Regions from separate parts of the Homo sapiens genome. Here regions 1 and 3 are each linked to region 2. The links are contacts of gene promoters, found by promoter capture Hi-C in human tissues and cell types (Jung and others, 2019). All regions are on one chromosome and are shown on one strand. The core of a region is centred on a gene start or on the middle of the fragment in contact, and the rest is flanking DNA. Distances in the headings are between cores, read along the strand shown.

What was found. The method cuts DNA at HindIII sites, captures the fragments that hold promoters and counts their contacts. A contact is called where the count stands out against the background at its distance.
Region 1: a fragment that was not itself captured here is called in contact with the fragment with the promoter of EIF2S3 in region 2 in 1 of the 25 tissues and cell types used here (ovary).
Region 3: a contact is called between a fragment that was not itself captured here and the fragment with the promoter of EIF2S3 in region 2, in 3 of the 25 tissues and cell types used here (liver, mesendoderm cells and ovary).

The regions. Positions count from the first base shown.
Region 1 is chrX:24,086,547-24,089,246 of GRCh38, forward strand. It overlaps LOC124905261 (a long non-coding RNA gene), which reads left to right and starts at 1,700. Exons shown (of 2, transcript XR_007068415.1): 1 at 1,700-2,078. The HindIII fragment of the contact is 6,471 bases long and covers 1-2,700 here.
Region 2 is chrX:24,053,612-24,056,447 of GRCh38, forward strand. EIF2S3 (eukaryotic translation initiation factor 2 subunit gamma) reads left to right here and starts at 1,345. Exons shown (of 12, transcript NM_001415.4): 1 at 1,345-1,426; 2 at 2,004-2,067. The coding sequence starts at 1,358. RefSeq lists a silencer at 694-903 and enhancers at 964-1,513, 1,534-1,603. The HindIII fragment of the contact is 10,457 bases long and covers 1-2,836 here.
Region 3 is chrX:23,994,379-23,997,078 of GRCh38, forward strand. All of the region lies in intron 3 of KLHL15 (kelch like family member 15), which reads right to left. Among named protein-coding and RNA genes, the nearest start is that of KLHL15, 31 kb to the right of the region's middle. The HindIII fragment of the contact is 5,387 bases long and covers 1-2,700 here.

The DNA.
Region 1 (2,700 bases), core at 70-2,569, 33 kb after region 2:
TCTTCCACTTAAAAAAAAATTTTTTTTTTTTGAGACAGTCTGACTCTGTCACCTGGGCTGGAGTGCAGTGGTGCGATATTGGCTCACTGCAACCTCCGCCTCCCGGGTTCAAGTGATTCTCCTGCCTCAGCCTCCCAAGTAGCTGGGATTACGGACATATGCCACCATGCCCAACAAATTTCTGTATTTTTAGTAGAGACGAAGTTTCACCATGCTGGCCAGGTTGGTCTTGGACTTCCGACCTCAGGTGATCTGCCTGCCTTGGCCTCCCAAAGTGCTGGGATTACAGGCATGAGCCACTGTGCTCGGCTGTATGTTTTAATTGCTTTAAGTAGATTCCTAGGAGTGAAATGTTGGGTTGTGTGGTAAGTCTATGTTAAACTTAGAAACTGCTAAATGTTTGCAAAGTGGCTGTGCTATTTTATTTTATTTTATTTTATTTGGGACGGAGTCTTGTTCTGTCACCCAGGCTGCAGTGCAGTGGCATGATCTTGGCTTACTGCAAACTCTGCCTCCCGGGTTCAAGCGATTCTCCTGCCTCAGCCTCCTGAGTAGCTGGGACTACAGGTGTCCGCCACCATGCCCAGCGAATTTTTGTATTTTTAGCAGAGGCGGGGTTTCACCGTGTTGGCCAAGCTGGTCTCAAACTCCTGACCTCAAATGATCCACCCACCTCAGCCTCCCAAAGTGCTGGGATTACAGGCATGAGTTACCATGCCCAGCCAGGCTGTGCCATTTTATATTCCTATCAACAATAGAGCAGGGTTCCAGTTTCTCAATATCCTCTCTAATACTTGGTAATTTTTTTTATTACAGTTGCCCCCCCTTACCTGCAGGGCATATATCCCAAGACCCTCAGTGAATCCCTGAAACAGTAGCTAGTACCAAATCCTATATATACTATATTTTTTGATCTGATAACCAAGATGGCTACTAGGTGATTAACGCACAGATAGTATGTACAGCATGGATATGCTGCGCAAGGGGATGGTTCACACCCTAGGCAAGACAGAGTGAGATGGCATGATATTTTATCATGCTATTCAGAACAGCACACAATTCAAAATTTATGAATTGCTTATTTCTGGAATTTTCAATTTAATATTTTCAGACTGGTTTACCACAGGTAACTGAAACCTTGGAGATAAGGGGGGATTACTGTATAACCCCCCCTTTTTTTTGAGACAGGGTCTCACTGTGTTGCCCGTGTTGGGGTGCAGTGGCACAATCTCGGGTCACTGCTACCTCCGCCTCCTGGGTTCAAGCAATTCTGCTTCAGCCTCTGGAGTAGCTGGGATTACAGTCGCCTGCCACCCCGCCTGGCTAATTTTTGTATTTTTAGTAGAGACGGGATTTCACCATGTTGGCCAGGCTGGTCTCGAACTCCTGACCTCAAGTGATCCGCCTGCCTTGGCCTCCCAAAGTGCTGGGATTACAGGTGTGAGCCACCATGCCAGGCCTGTATAACCCTTTTTTTTTTTTTTGCGACTGAGTCTCGCTCTGTCACCTAGGCTGGAGTGCAGTGGCACGATCTTGGCTCACTGCAACCTCTGCCTCCCTGGTTCAAGCGATTCTCCTGCCTCAGCCTCCTGAGTAGCTGGGATTACAGGTGCCTGCCACCACGTCCGGCTAATTTTTTGTATTTTTAGTAGAAACAGGGTTTCACCGTGTTAGCCAGGATGGTCTCGATCTCCTGACCTCGTGATCTGCCCACCTCGGCCTCCCAAAGTGCTGGGATTACAGGCGTAAGCCACCACGCCCAGCCCTGTATAACCATTTTAGTGGGTATATAGTGGTATCTTGTTGTGGTTTAAATTTGCATTTTCCTAATGACTAATGATGTTGAGCACTTTTCATGTGCTTCTTAGCATATAACTTCTGGAAGTTTTATAGTTTTGGTTCTATTGTAAGTTAATTTTTCAATGGTGTGGGGTAAAGGTCTACGTTCATTTTTAAATTTTTATTTATTTTGTTTTATTTTGTAGAGATGTGGTCTCACTATGTTGCTCAGGCTAATCTCAAACTCCTGGCCTCAAGTGATCCTCTCGTCTCAGCCTCTCAAACTGCTGGGATTACAGGTATGAGCCATCACACCCAGCCTAATTTTATTTTTAAATGGATGTCTAATTCTCCCAAAGCATTTGTTGAAAAGATTATTCTTTCCCCACTGGATTATCTTGGCATCTTTATTGAAAATCAGTTGACATAAGTATAAAAGTTAATTTCTTTAATTCTACTCTATTGATCTATATGCCACACTGTCTTGATTATTGTGACTTTACAGGGAGTTTTGAAATTGGAATTGGGTAACGTAAATCCTTCAGCTTTGTCTTCTTTTTTTGTTCAGAACTGTTTTGGCTATTTGAAATCCTTTGAATTCCCATATAACTTTTAGGATCTGCTTGTCAAATCCCCCCCCCCCCAACAAAAAAAACCCAAACCTTCTGGAATTTTGTTAGGGATCACACTAAATTTCTAGATCCAGTTTGGAGGGAAGTACCATCTTGACAATATTGATTCTTCTAATTCATAAACATGGGATGTCTTTTAGTAGAGACGGGTTTCACCAGGTTGGCCAGGCTGGTCTCAAACTCTTGACCTCAGGTGATCTGCCCACCTCAGCCTCCAAAGTGCTGGGATTACAGGCATGAGTCACCGCTCCAGGCCATGAAATTTATTTCTTTATTTTTTTCCCAAGAC
Region 2 (2,836 bases), core at 95-2,594:
CGATCTCAGCTCACGGCAAGCTCCGCCTTCCGGGTTCACGCCATTCTCCTGCCTCAGCCTCCGGAGTAGCTGGGACTACAGGCGCCCGCCACCACGGGCGGCTAATTTTTTTTTTTTTTTGTATTTTTAGTAGAGACGGAGTTTCACCATATTGGCCAGGCTGGTCTCGAATTCCTGACCTCGTGATCCACCCGCCTCAGCCTCCCAAAGTGCTGGGATTACAGGCGTGAGCCACCGCGCCCGGCCTCATAATATTTATTTCCTAAATAAGCTAACTTGATGACTACTTACAAGTATTCTAAAGTGAGCTTGGCTTCTCAGTATTCGTCATTGTGGCTTTCATATTATCTTTTCACTTCTCTTTACTATACTTTTGCATAATAGCTGTCTAACAAGTTTTTATGGAAATAAATTTATTGCAAACAAAAAAGGAAATAGCTGTTTATGATAAAATTTGTATAGAAATGCAAGGAGAAAAACAAATCACTCAACTGCTTTTCAACACGACGAAAAGTGGGTTAAGGTCTCAAAATTCTTTAAATTTTAAAATACCGATTTATCGGTAATCGAGGTTTTTTTGGATCTGCTTCTTTAAGAAAAAAAAAAACAAAACACACACACACAAACCAGCGAACTTCAGACGCTCTTACGACACCTAGCTATATTCACTGGGAACGCAATCTAACGTCACCAAGGCCCACCTCCCGGGCCCTAGAAATCGCTCTCTGGGAACAAGCTGGGGACTTTGATTTTGCTAGCCCTGCCCCTCTGAGCCCTTCACCAAACTTCCGCGCGGGGGCGCCCGCCCCACCTCCCGCCGGGGCTCAGCACGCGGCCTTCTCCCAGCCAAGAGCCCCGTCATAGGTGGGCGCCGACCCCGAGCCGATCTCGCTTTATTAAATTACAGAAATCGGTATTCAAAAAAAAAAAAAAAAAAGGGCGGGGAGGACACTCCCTCTTCTCTGTTCCCACACCCTAGCTGATTCCCAGGTTTCGGGAAACTCCACAGGAAACGGAAATGGTCTCTCCCAGGCCAGCGCGCGCGCCGGGTTGCATCACCCGCCTCGCACGGGCCGGCGGGGCGGGGGTTTGGTGGCTGCCCTCAGTATTGCCTGCACAAATATCTACCAGGTCTGCGACGAATAGCTCCAGCAACTTCGCACCGTGTTTTCCACTCAGCCTACCGACAGGCACTGTGCAGATTCAAGCGGAGAGATGTCCAAGCAGTGAGGCCGCTGCTGCACCGGCCATCCTGAGCCCCTACTCGGCCTTCCCGTCTCCGCTTCCCCGCCCCGCACTAGGACCCCTGCAGATGATCAGGCGGCAGCCGGGGTGATTTCCTTCCTCTTTTGGCAACATGGCGGGCGGAGAAGCTGGAGTGACTCTAGGGCAGCCGCATCTTTCGCGTCAGGATCTCACCACCTTGGTGAGGTTTTGCTTGGGGAGGATGCAGAGTGAGCTCAGGAGTGGAGGTGACCGAGCCTCCCGGTGGTATTGGGACTAGTCAGTGTCGGGAGCATGGGTCAGGAGCCTGGGTCAGGAGGGAGACCTGGAACTGGGCGCCCTAAGCCATGCTCGCGCCGCCTGTACCCAGGCCAGTCCACGATCTGGGCGCAGGCGTGTACGGTCGTGGGACTTCTAGCTTCTGGAGGGTTCGGCTGGAAAGTCTTGATGTTGATTGTCATGGTTTCAGCCTCTGAACGTCTGGGAAGGGGGTGTCCTGTCTGCATTACTTTTAGTGCTAATGTTCCCAAGATTGGGGGGATCTCTGACTTCCAGATATCCCCTAATAGTTGAGTGGAGGTGTAGTCTGTTGTGTAATGATGAAGGGCTCTTAACAGCTTCCCAGCCATAGGAGTACAAAGTTACTGATAGGGAAAAGGAGCTTTAGAAGTAGTGGAAAGCTGTGCAGATGGTGGCAAGATGTAGATAGCAAACGTAAAGTCAAAGGAAAAGTTCTCATTTGTTTTACGTGCAGTGTTTTAAAATATATTTCATTGCAGGATGTTACCAAGTTGACGCCACTTTCACACGAAGTTATCAGCAGACAAGCCACAATTAACATAGGTAAGAGTAACTTAAGAGACCTAACCTTGGTCTCCAACAATTAATTTTAACCTCACTTTTTGTGTGATTACTTGAATAGTATGAGGATTCAGATATTCAAGAAATAGATACTGAGTCCTTGTGAATAAAGCATCTGCTACATTTGCGGTGCAGGGGGAGCACAAAGAATGCTGCCCACATGTAGCTTACAGACTCGGTAAGAAGAAAAAATGGAGACATAAGAAAAGTTTAATAGCATAAGGCAGTATGTAGTCATATGTAGCAGAAGTTTAAGGAAGAGGTGAAAAATGTGGCTGTACTTGACACACAGGATTATTTCAAGGGCAGAATTTATGAAAGTTTTATTTGATGTACAAGCTGTGATTAAATAGAAGGTTTTTTTTCTTAATTGGCACCTAGAACTTTAGAGGAGAAGTTACGTTGACTGAGTGTAAATTTTGGACATTTTGAGTTTGTACAAACAGCACAGTTTGTACGAAAGTAAGTTAAAAAGTACAGAAGTAAGTTAAAAAGTAAGACTAGTTTTTAACCTAGTTAAAAAGTAAGACTCCACCATGAGGCTATTAAAGTTACAGTATTACAGTCTGGAGCTTTAATTTATTAATGCAAACAAAGCCCAAATAAGCCTACAGGCCTTGAACTACTGCCCCTGCATTAAAAATTTTGGTTGAGGTGACCTTGGAGCATAACCTAACCTCCGAACAACCTATGCTAAGACTATACCAGTTAAAGCAAATTACTGTGCATATATTGACCCAATAATTTGATC
Region 3 (2,700 bases), core at 156-2,655, 59 kb before region 2:
ACAAAACCTGGGATAACTCCAATCACCTATCAATAAGACATTGGTTGGATACACTCTGGTATATACCATATGCAGCTGTGAAAAAGAGTGAGGTTGATCCATATGCACTAACACAGATATTCAAAATGTTAAATAAGAAAACTGCAGAACAGTATGTGGCTCATCTTTTCATAGAGAAGGCACTTCTCCCATCCTTCATTTCTCACATAACAGTTTATCTGTGTATCAGGTACTCTCAAAGAGGTATGGAAAGAACGACATTTCTTTCATGTTCTGAATTACTTTCCTTTGCCTTTCACAGGATTAAACAGCTGTCATGTTTTAAAGCTTGGAAAGAATGTTACTACTTTTCTTGCTTTGATACTTTAAAAAACTGTATAATGAAAAGCATTTTGTCTTATTCTGAATATATCATATAATTATATATAATTTCAGTGGTCTGAAAAAAAATTTTTTTAATTTACTGATTATTTAATAAAATAGAGATTGGGTCTCACTATATTACCCAGTCTGGCCTTAAAATCCTGAGCTGAAGTGATCTTCCCACCTCGGCCTCCCAAAGTGCTGGGATTACCAGCATGAGCCACCTTGCCCAGCCTGAAAATGTAAATTGTCCATTTCCTCTAAACATCTTTTACTTTAATTGTGTGTGCATGTATGATATAGCTGACAATGAAGTATGAGAAATGATTAACTTTGAATACAGTTCCTGTAAATATGTATACACATACACACACACACGCATATATACACACACACAAATATATAAAGTTGGAGAAATAACTAGCCATTACAGCTGGGCAAATATTTCATGTTTCTCCATTCACTGTCAAAATGTTATATCATAGTGAAACCCAGTCTCTAATAAAAATACAAAAATTATCCGGGCATGTTGGTGTGCGCCTGTAGTCCCAGTTACTCGGGAGGCTGAGGCAGGAGAATTGCTTGAACCCGGAAGGTGGAGGTTGTGGTGAGCCAAGATCACGCCACTGCACTCCAGCCTGGGCAACAGAGCGAGACTCTGTCTCAAAAAAAAAAAAAAAAAAAAGGCTGGCTAAAAGCCTAAAATAATTCTAGACTGTAGCCAGTTAGAGTACATTTTTTTTTAATTCCAGATTTTTTAATCAAATAAAGGTAGTAAACTCTGTGGAAATCCCTATTTTAATTATATTGCAAGTTACATTTTAATTCTCTCAAAATTAAAGACGGTATATACAAATTACCTTTAAAACTTAAGAATCTGAATACCATGTGGCCAGGCTGGTCTTGAACTCGTGACATCATGATCTGCCTGCCTCAGCCTTCCGAAGTACTGGGATTACAGGCATGAGCCACCGTGCCCAGCCTAGCCAGCCAATTTAAGATACACTTTTTGAAAGAAAAAAAAAATTGAGACGGATTTCACTTGTTGCCCAAGCTGGAGTACAATGGTGCGATCTTGGCTCACTGCAACCTCCACCTCCTGGGTTCAAGTGATTCTCCTGCCTGTCTCCCGAGTAGCTGGGATTACAGGCACATGCCACCATGCCCGGCTAATTTTTTGTATTTTTAGTAGAAATGGGGTTTCACCATGTTAGCAAGGCTGGTCTCGAACTCCTAACCTCAGGTGATCTGCCTGCCTTGGCCTCCCAAAGTGCTGGGATTACAGGCATGAGCCACCACACCCAGCCACGAAATAATTTTTAAAATATCCAATATGCTTATATTAAATCAAAGAAACAAAATACCTTTTATTAGTTTATCTATCAGAAGGGGTGGAAGTGGGGGAGCAATTCCTGAACTTAAGATGGTGCCTGGCCCTATTAAAGAGGTTACCTGTGTGAACAGGCACCTCTCTGGCCCTTTCTACATCCAAAAAATGCTAACCTAATCGCTCGAATGACAAGTACAAGGAGGTATCAAGACTGAGTCTTGGTTGTCAGTTTTATCATCTCTTCTCCACCATGATGCAATCTTCCCAAGTAGTTACTATCGTGGTGCTTTAATGCTGAAACAAACCATATCAGGCCGGGCGTGGTGGCTCACGCCTGTAATCCCAACACTTTGGGAGGCCAGGCGAGCGGATCATGAGGTCAGGAGTTCGAGACTAGCCTGGCAAACATGGCGAAACCCTGTCTCTACTAAAAATACAAAAATTAGCTGGGCGTGGTGGGGGGCACCTGTAATTCCAGCTACTCAGGAGGCTGAGGTAGGAGAATCGCTTGATCCCGGGAGGCAGAGGTTGCAGTGAGCCGAGATCGCACCGCTGCACTCCAGCTTGGATGACAGAGCGAGACTCCATCTCAAAAAACAAAACAAAACAAAAAAACCCTGTATCAGCTACATTTGATATAATTTTGATTCTCAGTAAAACATGGAGCAGTCTTTAGATGCTATATTGCAAAACTATGTACCCTGGTATGAGAAGTCTTTATTTGTAAAATCTTGCTCAGAACTAAAGCTTATATTGATTTACGTAAAACAAAATCATCACAAAAAAAGCTAGGTGCAATATGCCTTTAATCAATCCCTTTGTCCTGAAAAACTGAGTTAATGACCAAGGATAAAGCTATGAAAAATCAGTTCATGCTAAGCATAAATCCTTTCAGTCATACTGTATTTATAGTCAATACCAAATGGTAAATAAAGATAAATCGTAGTAAGAATTTACTCACCCTCTTCTCTCCAAGCAGGCAAAGTCAAAAATGAACTGAACTTCAG